5 separate regions of the Homo sapiens genome follow, and regions 1, 2, 3 and 4 are each linked to region 5. Evidence: promoter capture Hi-C in 16 types of primary human blood cells and fetal thymus (Javierre and others, 2016). All regions are on one chromosome and are shown on one strand. The core of a region is centred on a gene start or on the middle of the fragment in contact, and the rest is flanking DNA. Distances in the headings are between cores, read along the strand shown.

The links. The method cuts DNA at HindIII sites, captures the fragments that hold promoters and counts their contacts. A CHiCAGO score of 5 or more calls a contact.
Region 1: a contact is called between a fragment that was not itself captured here and the fragment with the promoter of ERICH6B in region 5, in 1 of 17 cell types (M1 macrophages). The highest score is 5.2, in M1 macrophages.
Region 2: a fragment that was not itself captured here is called in contact with the fragment with the promoter of ERICH6B in region 5 in 1 of 17 cell types (M1 macrophages); the score reaches 5.4 in M1 macrophages.
Region 3: a fragment that was not itself captured here is called in contact with the fragment with the promoter of ERICH6B in region 5 in 1 of 17 cell types (M1 macrophages); the score reaches 5.1 in M1 macrophages.
Region 4: a fragment that was not itself captured here is called in contact with the fragment with the promoter of ERICH6B in region 5 in 2 of 17 cell types (M1 macrophages and M0 macrophages); the score reaches 5.9 in M1 macrophages.

What each region holds. Positions count from the first base shown.
Region 1 is chr13:45,846,282-45,848,981 of GRCh38, forward strand. The region is part of intron 1 of SIAH3 (siah E3 ubiquitin protein ligase family member 3); the gene reads right to left. Among named protein-coding and RNA genes, the nearest start is that of SIAH3, 4.1 kb to the right of the region's middle. RefSeq lists an enhancer at 728-1,418. The HindIII fragment of the contact is 2,063 bases long and covers 375-2,437 here.
Region 2 is chr13:45,745,180-45,747,879 of GRCh38, forward strand. No RefSeq gene overlaps it. Among named protein-coding and RNA genes, the nearest start is that of CBY2, 44 kb to the left of the region's middle. The HindIII fragment of the contact is 3,026 bases long and covers 1-2,700 here.
Region 3 is chr13:45,823,225-45,825,924 of GRCh38, forward strand. All of the region lies in intron 1 of SIAH3 (siah E3 ubiquitin protein ligase family member 3), which reads right to left. Among named protein-coding and RNA genes, the nearest start is that of SIAH3, 27 kb to the right of the region's middle. The HindIII fragment of the contact is 3,095 bases long and covers 1-2,700 here.
Region 4 is chr13:45,769,883-45,772,582 of GRCh38, forward strand. No RefSeq gene overlaps it. Among named protein-coding and RNA genes, the nearest start is that of CBY2, 69 kb to the left of the region's middle. The HindIII fragment of the contact is 733 bases long and covers 1,017-1,749 here.
Region 5 is chr13:45,614,336-45,617,035 of GRCh38, forward strand. It overlaps ERICH6B (glutamate rich 6B), which reads right to left and starts at 1,404. Exons shown (of 15, transcript NM_182542.3): 1 at 1,350-1,404. RefSeq lists an enhancer at 1,027-1,528. The HindIII fragment of the contact is 3,697 bases long and covers 1-1,712 here.

The sequences.
Region 1 (2,700 bases), core at 156-2,655, 230 kb after region 5:
GTTTTACCATGTTGGCCAGGCTGGTCTCAAACTCCTGACCTAAGGTGATCCACCTGCCTCGGCCTCACAAAGTGCTGGGATTACAGGCGTGAGCCACCGCACCTGACCTAGAAGACCTAACTTCTAGTCTCAATTTTGTCAGTAAGGTCTCCATTCTTTGGGTTGATTCCTTCCACAGGACATTTCTTGTCTAACCAGGTCACTGTTTCCCTTTGGAGGAAACAGAGCTAGTTGGGTGAAGATGACTTTGCTAAGGGTAAAATACCCCCACAGACAGTTAATTTTTTTTCTTGTTGTTAATTGCTAGGAAAATAATCCATCTTACCCAGGGAAGCCATCCAAGTAATTCAGACCTCTCTGCGGATTTCAAAGAAAGCTTTCCGTATCTATTTTCTAATTTTCCCAAATAGTCCCTGCAGGTTGAGGGATCACAGTGAAGAGAATTCCACCAAATTTGCTTCGGGGCTGCTGGATAAATGCAGTACAGAGGTAATCGGCTCACCTCATCATAGCCGCCAGCTTCAGCCTCCCCTACAACTCAATCACCGGCACAGGGCTAACCAAATTACTGCTCCAGGCTCTGGGCCTCCCCGTTATGTGACTCAGGAGCCTCATTTGCAATCACCATTAACCAGAAAAGCCGCACGAATGCTCTGAGCCCACAGAGTGGAGTGTCATACAATATTCACAGAACCCATGGGCTGGAAGAGGCTGCAAAGCCTTTAGAATAATGCTCGCACAGTGACCACCACCAGCTTGGGGTCCCCTTCCTTACCCTTTATCCAGCCCCTCTGGCAAAGTGGCTCCAGACTGGACAGAGAAACAAGACAGTGAAATGCCCAGAGGACTGGGAATGGGACTGTCAGAGGTGACTGTGTGGAGAGGAACTGAGTAACCCACATACCAGCTATTAAACAGTCTTGTTGGAAGCCTTTAACTGCTGTAAAGTAGGTATTCACGCAGAACACTCCAAAGGCCACCTCTAAATCTCTAGACAATGCTCAGGTCTTTACCTCTCATTGAGCCACCTGCTGTGCTGTATGAAACAGAGTTAGCAAACCCCGGGGCAGCACGGGATTTCCAAAGATTATCCCATAAATGGCAAAGGTGGGCACACATCTCACATCTCTCCTTTCCTGGTCTCTGCCTCCTCCTCTTCCTTACAGCTCCCACCCTCCCCACTGCCACTCAATACACATTTATCCACACAAGTTGGTCTTAGAATGGAAGGCACGTGGATGCATCAACAAATGGTACTGAAGTGCCCCAGCTTTAGATTTCATATCTGTCGGGCACTTAAAGCCACGATTGTCCCATATGCCCCTCCCACTCCATGTGTTCGTGTGTGTGTGTGTGTGTGTGTGTGTGCACGTGTGTGTTTCTGTTGCACCTCAAGGTTAATGGGGTTGTCTGGGGTGGTGCAGGCACAGGTTGGAGGTATCAGAGAGGGCCTCATGGAAGTTTGCCAGAAAGCATTTTACTATTCTTCTTTCAGAAACTTGTTTATCAAACGCTGTGGTTAAGAGGAGGAAGTCACTCAGCCAGCCTCAGCCTAGCTACTGCCTGCTTGGGAAGTGCTGATGACTGACCCCAGACCGACCCCTAGCACTACAGAGCCTTCTCTGGAAAAACCTGGGCACAGGGACTGACCGCTCCTCCCCTCAAAGGGCACCTCTGCAGATGGGGCAAAAGAAGGCAGGGCTGCCCAGGGCAGGGCGCTGTAGAAGCAGCTGGCGCCAATGGGAGTGGAGCCAGGAGAGAAAGGCTTTCTTGGTTTAGAAACAAGCAAAGGACAGGAGGGAGAGAGGAGTGCTGAATCAGGACCAGGAGCAGGCGCCCTCATGAGCGCCAGCCTGAAGTCTGCTCGTCACATTTCAATAACCTCTGTGAATGAGGAAGCAGAGGGCAGCTGGCCAAGAGAGCTGGCTCCTTGACGGTCACTTTTCATGGGGTGGAAAGAAGTGGGGGCACCATTTGGAACCCTAATCTGTGCAAGTGGTCCTCAGAGACAGAGACAGGCAGAGACTGAGGGAAATGGTCTTGTTTGCACTCCACTGCCTGGCACTCACTGAAAGCTGAGGTCTCTTATGTTCAAGGCTGGCTACTCTAAATGTCCCTTTTAATTAGGGTGAGCTTCAGGGGTGTAATGGCTTTAACCAGAGGATCTGATGTCCCCAGGAAGGCTCTGCCTTCCATTTAGAAGGAAAGGCATCAGCTTGCTCGAAGGAATCCCAGGTTACTGAGTAATCACCATAATAAGATTGAGAATGAAGGTGACCTATAGAAGCATGGTAAATACACAATTTTCTTTGCTTGGTAAGTGAATTTTGATTATAACTCAGCACTTGCCTCAGTTTCTAAAATGCTGTTGGTTCGAATTCTCAGGAAAGCCCAGGAAAGGATAAAACACATAAATGCTTCCACAAGGAAAAACACAAGCTTCCCAGCCCTCTTTGTAGCTACACGCAACCCATAAAATTGAAAGCAAGGTTGCAGTCTCTCTGTCCTTGGTCACCATTTCATATACTGGCCTGTCATACAAAATGTGGGGAAGCACGGCAGATCAATAGCTATTCTGGGTTAATACTGCCACAGGTTTTATTTTTTTCCTTTAACAAAAGAAGGACTTTCCTCCTCATTACATAGATCACAGCTTATTACGTCCAAGGCATATTTCCGTGGTCTGTTTATGGAAATCAG
Region 2 (2,700 bases), core at 186-2,685, 130 kb after region 5:
TGCTCGTCAGCAATATCTTCTGCATTAGCATTGCCAGCAGGGCTGGGTGTTAATGGGGGAGACCCTGGGTCAGTGCTGGTTCCATGATTCGCTGTAAACACAGTTCTTAGAGTACTCCCCAAGGGTGGATTACAGGGGAGCTCACTCTGTTGGTATCTTTCACTCACTCAGTAACTCACTCTCTTCGATGGGGTCCAAGTAGACCCATGTTGGACTGTGGATGTCCTCTGTTATTAAAAGGGCTGTGTTATTGAAAGGCTTCCATGTGGTTCTAAGAGGCAAGAACTACATATTAGGTTGGTTCTTGTGGTGAAAGTGATTGTGGTGGTTTTAAAATGTGGTCATAAGTTCCTTGGCACATCTCTTATCAAGAGATGGGGGCTGCGTTCTGCCCTTGCACGTGGTATGCTCTGTGACCAATGAGTGGACTGTAGAGAAAAGAACAGTAATGTTACATGACTTCAAAGGGTGGAATGCATCTTCCATCTTCTTTATTGGAAAACTCACTCTAGGAGCCCTGAGCCACCATGTGAAGAGCCTGACTGTCCTGAGACTGCCATGCTGGAGAGGCCACATGGAAACACTCCAAGTGACAATTCCAGATGAATACACATATCCCTAAGACTTCCCAACCCGGGCACCAGACAGTGAATAAGGAAGCCCCCTTGGAAGTGGATTCTCCAGCCTCACCTGTGTCTCTCTACCTTCTGCCCACCTTTGAGTCACCCCAGCTGAGGCCCCAGATATCTTGGAGCAGAAAACCTTCCCAGCTGTGGCCTTTCTGAACACCTGACCTACAGAATCTTTGCACGTAATAAAATAGTTATTATAGGCCACTTAGTTTTGGGATCATTTTGCAGTAATAGATTGTTAGAACAGTGATGTATTCAGAAAATACCAGCTTTGGAGTCAGTTAGACATCAATTCAAATGCCAACTCCCAGTTGGCTATCTCTGTGATCTTGGAGAGTGTCTGATACAGCTTTAAAGAGGGGATAATATAACCTGTATTTCAGGTTGATGTGAGGGTTAAATGAGGTAATATGTCCAAAGCCTATTATATAAGAGTTTTTTAAAAATCTTAACTTTCCTTTTCTTCTCTTCCCTTCCACTTAAGGAAGAAAAAAACAATAACCTAGTTATGTCCATTTTGGAAATGCAAGTGTATCTGATGCATTTTGTGACTCCCATGTGGGTCAGCCTGCATTAGAGCTGTTGGTTTACTTCTCCCTCTGCCCGGCCTGTTCCCCCTGACCTGTGAACTCCGTTTGGCACAGGTCTGCTCTTTTTAAACTTAGAGATTAGCCCAGGGCTGGTTCGAAGTAGTTGCATGATCAATGTTGTCAAAGAAATGTGTGAAGAAATGCTTACAAGTAGAAAGCTGAGCCTGCATGTATGATTTCACAGTGGGATAGGGGAGTGTGAGGAACTGTATCTGTAAGAATTAAATCTGATTTTTTGAAAGTCAGCTCTCAAAGAGACCCAGACTTTGGCACTGACTGCCTGGGGTCAAATCCTGTCTTGGTTCCTTATTGGCTATGTGACCTTAGGTAAGTTACATAACCTCTCCGTGTCTATCTTTTCCCATCTACAAAAAGGGAAAAAAATAATGGTACTTACCTAAGAAGTATATTGTGATGAGTAAACACTATACATCAAGCACCCATAACAGTGCCTGGCTCGTGGTAATGCTATGTAACACTGCTCCTCCTCGTTCATGGACCAGGAGCATCTACATCACCCACAAACTTGTGAGAAATGTAGGAATCTCAGGCTCCAACAGAGTGACCAAAACAGAATAAGCATTTTAATAAGATCCTCAGATGATTCATATGCCTATTAAGACTGGAGAAAGCCTGTTTTTCTAGTAAGCCTTAACTAGTATTATGATGTGGAAGAGCATTGTCATACATTTGGAAAACATCTTCCTAAAAAATTGGTGCAGTCCCAACATGCAGGGTTTTTAAAATGTCATGGACTTGGGATTTAGGCCAAGTGAAGGACAATGAATGCCAAGGGCCACGCCACTGTACGCTTGTCCAGCAACATCCTCTTCTCTTCCCTTCACATTATACTCCATCCTTTAGCACTTCCTCTCTTGTGGCTTGCAGGCAAACACCCACATCTTACCACATGGCTCCTGGTTTATTTCTGGGCCTGAATGCTCTCTGCAGTTCAAGTGTTGTTCATTTCCAGTGCTTAGTCCAGGTAAAGGGAAATGGTATTATCTGCAGTATTCTGGAAGGTTGCTTTGCATTTGTCAGAGGCATTCTCCTTTGTTTTTTGTGTTTTTGTTTTTGTTTTTGAGATGGAGTCTCGCTCCATCATCCAGGCTGGAGTGCAGTGGTGCGATCTTGGCTCACTGCAACCTCTGCCTCCCAAGTTCAAATAATTCTCCTGCCTTAGCCTCCCATGTAGCTGGAATTACAGGTGCCCACCACCATGCCTATCTAATTTTTTTTTTTTTGTATTTTTAGTAGAGACGGGGGTTTCACCATGTTGGCCAGGCTGGTCTTGAACTCCTGACCTCAAGTGATCCACCCACCTCAGCCTCCCAAAGTGCTGGGATTACAGGCATGAGCCACTGTGCCCCAGCCCATTCTCCTTTGTTAACACCTGTAAAATGCACCTGCAATTTTATCACAAACTAGGAACCCATTTAAAAAATGCATTCCTTGTGTAAAGCCTTAGACAGATTCAC
Region 3 (2,700 bases), core at 88-2,587, 210 kb after region 5:
CGAAGACCACTGCCTGGCCCAACCCTAGAGTGCTGACTTAATCGGTCTGGGGTGGGCACCTACAGCTGGAGTTCTGTAAAAGCTCCCCAGGCAATTCTAATACGTGGCCAGAGCTGAAAACTGCTGCTTCCGAATTTTTAAAGCACGTGTACACTATTTCAGCTGATCCTCAGAACCACTATAGGCAAGGCAAGTCTGCCCTATTTTCCCAGGCAGGTCTTTTTATAGCATTACTTTAAAAACCTTAAATCTCAGTCTACTTCTGGAGTTTTTCCAATTTTCTTTTCCTTTGTGAAATCTACCGTTGATATGCCTTTCAGCTTTAAAACTCTCCAGTTACCTGAATGTAAACTCTCAGCCCTAGAGAACTCCATCTATTCTGTGATTCTCCAAGCACTTGAAAGATTTTGGTCTCAAAACTGCTATCCAAAGACACCATGAAGCCTGTCCTGCTTCTCATCACTCAGCACTATCCTACCCTACCTTTAAGACAAGGTCAAAAGATGCAAAGGCCTTCAGGGCCAGCAGGCACTGTGCAAGTGTTAATCTGGTGGTTTAGTCCTACAGGCCTGACAGTATAGGGAGTGGTGCTGACAGTGTTTGTCAAAGATCTGGGCTGTGACCTGGTGTGACCTTGGGCAAATTACTTACTGGCTCTGAGCCTCAGCTCTCTCCTCTGTAGTAACATTGGGACTGTATTTTTAAAAAAATATTATTTTAGATTCAAGGGTACATGTGCAGGCTTGTTACATGGGTATATTGAGTGATGTTGAGGTTTGGGTTTCTAGTAAACCCATCACCCAAACAGTGAACATAGTACCAAATAGTCTACATTTTAGGCCTTACAAAGGTCAAAGATCCATTCTCATCTGTTTAATCTTCACCACTCTATAATTAGGGCAATTTTTACAACCCGTTTTACATACTAGGCAAATCTGACTTAGGTTTAAGTGAACTTCAGTTAAAAAATTATACAAGTAAAAACTGGCAGAACTTGGTTTTGAAGTCAATTCCTTTTAGTGCCAAACCCTTTATTTGTCCCACAACGCCACATCGAATTCTCTAAGAGTGTCAGTAATGTTAGCTGCCTCAAAGGGTTGTAAGTTAGATTGAATGTAGTCAGGCCCACAGCAGGCACAGGACCTGCCCCCCTTGCTGCTGTCGATAAAGCTCTGCTATTAACAAAAGCAATAACAGAATATTCAAAGTGGTCTGGGGTAGCCTCCATACCCCTCACCTGTCACTGGCCATTTTCTTCCTTCTTTGTAAGCTGGAAGGCTCTGGGCCTAACCTCATCTAATTAAGGCAGAGTATCTGGGGTTGAGACCCAGGTTTCAGCCCTTCCCCTTGGTTTCAAGCTCCCTAGATGATTCCAACATGCAGGTGGAGTTGAAAACCACTGTGGGGAAAGAGACCAGTGCTAAATGTCTTTGGACCTCCAGACACATAGAGCCTGGCACACAAACAATGTTTTGTGGTATAATTTGTTAAAGCAGCGCATCGGAGTTGGAAAAATCCAGGTTTAAATCTCTATCACTTATCAGAGAAGGGGACTTATTTGCTCTGAGCCTTATTCCTCATTTATTAAAAAACAAAAACCACGAGATTGCGCCACTGCACTCCAGCCTGGGCGACAGAGCGAGACTCTGTCTCAAAAAAAAAAACAAAAAAAACAAAAACCAAAAAACCAAAAAAAGAAGCCATCCTCTACTCTGCAGGGCTGTGCTGAGAAGTGACAGAGAACCAAGGCGTGTGCTAATGTGTCCACTGCTGTGAGTGCTAAAGCGGTATGCAAACGTACGGCAGCATGACAGTATCGTGGGTGCTTAATACATATTTATCGATTTCCACGAGATCTTACTTACCCATCTTTTCTTCACTCTTAAACATGAAGCTGGGGGAAATAAATAAGAAATATAATTGCACCTCACACTTCAGGACTCCCTAGGCATCTCGCATTAATAGGTCTCTTCAGCTTTCCTCTAAGTGCTAATAATTCCTGGGCGTTTTGATGGGAGCGCTTTCTCCCAAAGATAAATTGACCCCAGCTAAGAGCCAAGCTCCTAGCCAAATCTCATTACAATCAGCCTTGATGGCAGACAGGATTCAGAATGTAACAAAATTAGAGCTTTTAAATCATTATCTCGACTCTGGGAGCACTGCGTTAACAGATGGGAATGTGGATGATGGAGAAAAGACCTCACACCACACTCTTCCCCAGAAAACGGATTTCCCCCAAGCCAGGAGCGCAGCCCCCAGCCCTGCCTGGGGTGTGTGCTTAGTGTCACCTTGGAGGGAGTGACATCTGAACTGACCTTTTCACACCTTCGTGAAGTAGTCTTCCTGAGGATCCACTTTTCCCAGCTCACTTTTCTGCAGAAGGTAACCATAGGGGAAAATGTGAAATGCTGAGTCTCTTAGGAAACAACTTGGTGAGCAAGAAGTTACTTGGGACAGTACTTTCTGTTGCTGCTTTCCTGAGCTCTGAGCAGCTTCCTCATCTGTTCGTTCATTCAACAGCATCAGTGCACACTGGGCCCTCATATCATACCTGTTCTGGCTACATCCTCTGTGCCTGTGACATTTCTCCGTTTTGTAGGACAGCCCTACCCCAGCTCCCTCGCTTCCTAGGCCTTGTTCTCTGAGTTACAGCTTTCCTCCAAAGGCTCCCTCCCCTGACCATGAAGACCAAAACCCAAG
Region 4 (2,700 bases), core at 133-2,632, 160 kb after region 5:
GTTGCAGCTCTTAATTTGGGAGGCTGGAAATTGAACAATGGCATCGACAGTTGTCAGTTTCCATGTGCAGTTATGTGATGCCTGTTATGTCAAAACTGTGACTTTTTATAGCCTCCTTTCATGAGATTTGTGATGTTCTGTTCTTTTAAAAGGCTCCAAAGGGACAGTATACCTTGATTTAAGAAAGTTCAATATATTAAATCCAGTTTCACAGGAAAGAAATATAGAAGAATGGTTATTCACTTTGCAAAAGAATTCACAATGGGATTCTTAAAGTGATAAATATTATATGTGGCACTTAGCACGTGATTTAGTTCATTGTTTCGGGAATGTGTCTATGGGCAAAAGGCTGTCTACTGGAAGAGTTCTGGTGCTTCTTACTTCAGATACTTCAGCCTTTGCTCCCCAGCTTATGCTGGCATGAGGACCGTCAAGTACTCAGGTGAAAATCCCAGTGGTAGTTGCCTCTACTCCCCAGTTTTATTCCTGAAACTCCAAGTTTCTCATATTTTACTGTGGCAGATAGCATAAATTGGCTCACTTAACCCAGGTTCCAGTGCCCTTTTAATTTGCCTTCCTGAGCTAGAGTGCCTAAAGGCTAACATCCATATTCCCCAGTTTCCCTGGCATTTAGGAATCCTCATATGATTTAGAGACTTAATCTTCTGACAGGCATAGCTGGTTCTTCTGGGGCAGCTGGGGTAGAGTTTCTGCCACTAAAGTTCAGTCCCTCGCATCAAGGTGCCAAGCAGCAGAAAGCAGCAGCAGCGGCATTTCTGCTAGAAGAGGTCTGTGCTGTAGCTCGGTGTTTCCTCTGGCTGCTTTGCCCCTGGCTGTCACTCTCTAGCCTTCCTGTTGTCACAGCAAAGGGAACTTTCTCTCCACCCTCTGAAGGTTGGATAATTGAGTCTGTTGACATAAACTGACAATAGGCAGATTAACAGGGGAAAAGGCATACAAATTTGTTAATATGCAAACACACACAAAATATGAAACTCAAAGAAGGGCCAGATTAAAGCTTACATACCCGCTTCCTAGGGAAGAGGGAAGTGGGGAACATAGGCAATTTTGGAGGAAGAGTAAATAGTCTCCAGGGGATAAGATAGGCCTGAAAAACAAATAATAGCCTGGAACAAAGTTCTTCTGGGCTTGCGGGGAGGTGGTGACAAGTTGTGGGAAGGTGAGGGGCAGAACTGCACTGGGAACAAAGGTTGTCTTACAATGAAGATAAAGCCTCTCAGGTAATATCCTTCAAAAGAATAGATGAAAAGTCTGTCTGGGTGGGGATGTGGTGATGACCTTTGTTTTCATCTTTGGTGATTAATTCTTCCTGGTTAATAAGATTTCAGACAGGGATTAAAGACAATTATATTTCTTTTGGAGAAACTTCCCTCAGTCAAATAAGAAAACTTCACAGAAAGAGAGAGAGAGAGAGACCTTCCCTACCCTTGGGGGAAAAACAAGATAAGAGAGACCCTAATTCTGAAGCAGCTTCTAAGACCTTCCAATTTTCTTTAATTCAGAGTGCTTGGCATGCCAAAGCACCATATATTGTTTTCTGAGCCCCAATGCTATAAATGACCGAATATTTTCTGATTGAACTAGCTAAAGTCGATTTTGTTGTTTGTAACTAAAAACCTTGACTGATATGCCCTCCCTTTCTTGTGTGTCCTGGGCACTCAAACTGAGGACTACTGTACACAGTTGTGCAGATAGTGCACTGTACCATCCAGAGGCACCATTCACATAAGCTTACCAACATTGTCTTATGAATTGCTGTCCTCTTGAAAGGCTGTTTTCTTTCTTTAGGTTCTTTTTTTGCTCCTACTGCCTTAGTTTGGGCCTCTATTTCCACCTGAGTGTGAAGGGAGAGTTTTCTACAAAGATCACAATTCTTTCAGCCCACAAGAACTCCAAGAGATTAAGCTCTTTTGGGCTATTGCTTCTTTTGTCCGCACTCTTAGAACAAAATTTTTGAGGGGTTGGGTATATTAATCATTTATTTTATTTTCCATATTTTATGAGGCTTTGACTTCTTAGGGCCTTGCAGACCTAGGGGGCATACTGCCCATCCCAGGGTTAGCTAATTGCTATCGTGAGTGAACAGTTTACCTGAGAGCATGTATTTAGTACGCAAACCAACCAATCCTGAGTTCGCACCCTCACCATCCTTATTTTATCTGCTCCTACAGTCTGTCCCCCTACCCTAAATTGCCCCAGGGCCAGGAACCAGAAAAATAGAGCTCACCCCATAGCTTAGAGCCTATTTATTGAAACTATCCAATCCTCAGCCTGCTCGGCTGCTTACTCTGTTTCACCCATGCCTTCTGTGAAAACAACAGTAAAGGTTTTGCCCAGGCTTTTTCCTCATTCTGCTGCTTCCTGATTGACCTTGTTCTTCCCTGTGTGGCTCTCATGGTGTGACATGCCCCTTTCTCTTGGAAACTGTAATAAACTTTTCTTTTAAAAGAGGATGTCTCCATGTCTGTCATCTCGCCACATAGTATCATATTCCAAAGTGTTTATCTCTTATCATGAATTGGATTTCCCGAGACAGAGCCCTGACATTTTAACTGTCTTCTGCCTCAGGAAATTTACTTGCAGGATTCCCCAGCAATGCCTTCCTCCTCATTGCTATGATGAAGACTTCATCCAGATGTTAGGGACAGGTCCTGGGCCATCAGACTCAAAGCCACTTTT
Region 5 (2,700 bases), core at 154-2,653:
TCTCCTATTGCACTTCTCCCTGGTTTGTGTGTCTGCCTCACCCATGAGACTGTAGCCCGGCACCATGTCAGGCACGTAGCAGGATTTCAACAGAAGGATGTGGATCGAATGGATGATCCAACGGAAGGAGAGGCACACAGGAGGCTGACCACAAATGAAATTTCTGGTTTGGACTTTTCAGCCCCCATCACTTCACTTTCCCTCCTGCTATGGGGGAAACTCAAGAGATGAGTTATGGGTGGGCTAAGACAGCAAGCTGGGAGCTGGTGAAGAAGATGGAGTGGGTGACCCTTGGCTTTCACTGGGCTTCTCCCAGCCGATGCTTGGAAACCCTAGATGGATCAAGGTGAGAAGCCTCATTTCTGTAAAGGACTCCAAGGATTCCATGGTGCTCTGCAAACGTAATGTGTTCTTGTTGCTGTTATCATCTACCATAGCTGTTTATAACCTTGTTCATTAACTTGTGTGATTCTTGGCTGAAGTCTGCTGCTCTCCCCCATGAGGGGAACAACTGATGACCTACTTCTGTGAATTCCATGGTGCCAGGCCTGGGCTGATCTGGATCTACATTAAAACATGCCAGGGGGCAAACATGAAATCAAAATGTTCTGGCAACCCCCTTAGACCAATCAGTGCAGTGTTTAGCACTATAGACACCCAGTGCACTCATTACAACATCATTTCCTAGGACCTTTTTTATAAATAGAATTTCGAATATATTCAGGTTTGAACTTTCAAGGAGGGTGACTTTGAGCCATCACTTGGAACAGAACACTTGTAAAAACACTGACCTTGGTCACTGCTCACATCTCCCTGGAAGGCCAGTTAGGACTGCTGTTTACCCCCCACATTAGAGAGGTAGGGGAAGGAAACAGGGGAAGCTGAGTGACTTGCCTTTGGGCCACAGGAGTCGCTTCGTGGGCAAGGCTGGAGTTTTCGATCTGGGGAATTTGTTCCTGGTTGGGGGACTGGTCTATATTCAGGCTGTCAAGGAAGAAGTCATAGTATCCACACTCGCACTTCCCCCCAGAGCTAGGGGCTCTCTGGAGAGAAAGTGACCCCTTATCCTTTATTTGTAGAAATATCATGACCCAACAACGGCCTTCACAATGGGAAGAAGCTGGGTCGAAGCAGATGTCAGAAAGGCCAAGGGAATAGAGAGGCCGAGAAAGGGCGAGAGAAACAAAGAAGTCTATGTACTTGGCGCTTCTTTGTTGCCCAGATCCTCCACTCTGCTCCCTGCTTTCTCCCTCAGAGAAGGAGGGGGAAGAGGAGGAGGAGAGTGGGTGGAGAGGGAGGCGGAGGAGAAAGAGGAGGAGGAGCGCATTGCTAACGTGCGCAGCCCTTACCCAAGCCAGGCTCCCGCGCGTGCATCCACCGCGATCTCAGGCCCCGGCGTTTGTGGCAGCTCTCGGTTACCATGGGAACCGCACTCCGCAGCCTCCCTGGGCCCCATCTAATCTGCGTGTGTGCGTGGCGGAGAATTCTAAGCCTCTGCACCTGCCCTTGCCTTCCCTTTCCCAGCCTCTCTCCTGGCGGGGAACTGTTTGGACCAGTCGTCAGCGGCGGCCAGAAAGTTTTCCTGCTGTCTGCCTGAAGGTCGCCTGTGTCAGGGGGAAGTTGCAGCCGTGGGGATTGTGTTTCCCTGAATGGAGACAGTACACGTCAGACCTCCAGGCTGGGACTTTCTAGAATCCTGGGGTCCAGTGCTAAGCTTGTGGTGGCTGCGTAGATGAAGAGATGGGACATGTGGCTCTCAAGGCCCTGAATGGGCTCACTGGAGCTGGTCCCCAGGAAAGGAACTGCCCTGAAAGGGATAGAGAGACCCACAAGGGGTTGATCTGGGGCCAAGGGTTGGAGAAAGCTGAGTTCCCATGCCCTGGCCACTGTGAGTGGACTTGCAGGAGTGGCAGAATGGTCAGGTGGGGTGGGAGGCTGGGTTGCAAACCACTTCTATGTAGGCATTCCTGGTCAGTTGTCACAGAGGTTTCAGAAGGACCTCAGTCTTTGAAGTGCTTGCAATTTGCCCTTCCTTTTCTTTCCTTTTCTTTTTCTTCTCATTATACTTTAAGTTCTGGGATACATGTGCAGAACGTGCAGGTTTGTTACATAGGTATACACGTGCCATGGTGTTTTGCTGTACCCATCAGCTCGTCATCTACATTACGTATTTCTCCTAATGTAATCTCTCCCCTTGCCCCCCCGCCCCCGATAGGCCCCAGTGTGTGATGTTCCCCTCCCTGTGCCCATATGATCTCATTGTTCAACTCCCACTTATGAGTGAGAACATGTGGTGTTTGGTTCTCTGTTCCTGTGTTAGTTTGCTGAGAATGATGGTTTCCAGCTTCATCCATGTCCCTGCAAAGGACATGAACTCATTCTTTTTTATGGCTGCATAGTATTCCGTGGTGTATATGTGCCACATTTTCTTTATCCAGTCTATCATTGATGGGCATTTGGGTTGGTTCAAGTGTTTGCTGTTGTGGATAGTGCTGCAATAAACATACGTGTGCATGCGTCTTTACAGCAGCATGATTTATAATCCTTTGAGTATATGCGCAGTAATGGGATTGCTGGGTCAAATGGTATTTCTGGTTCTAGATCCTTTAGGAATTGCCACACCGTCTTCCACAATGGTTGAACTAACTTACACTCTCACCAACAGTGTAAAAGCATTCCTATTGCTCCACATCCTCTCCA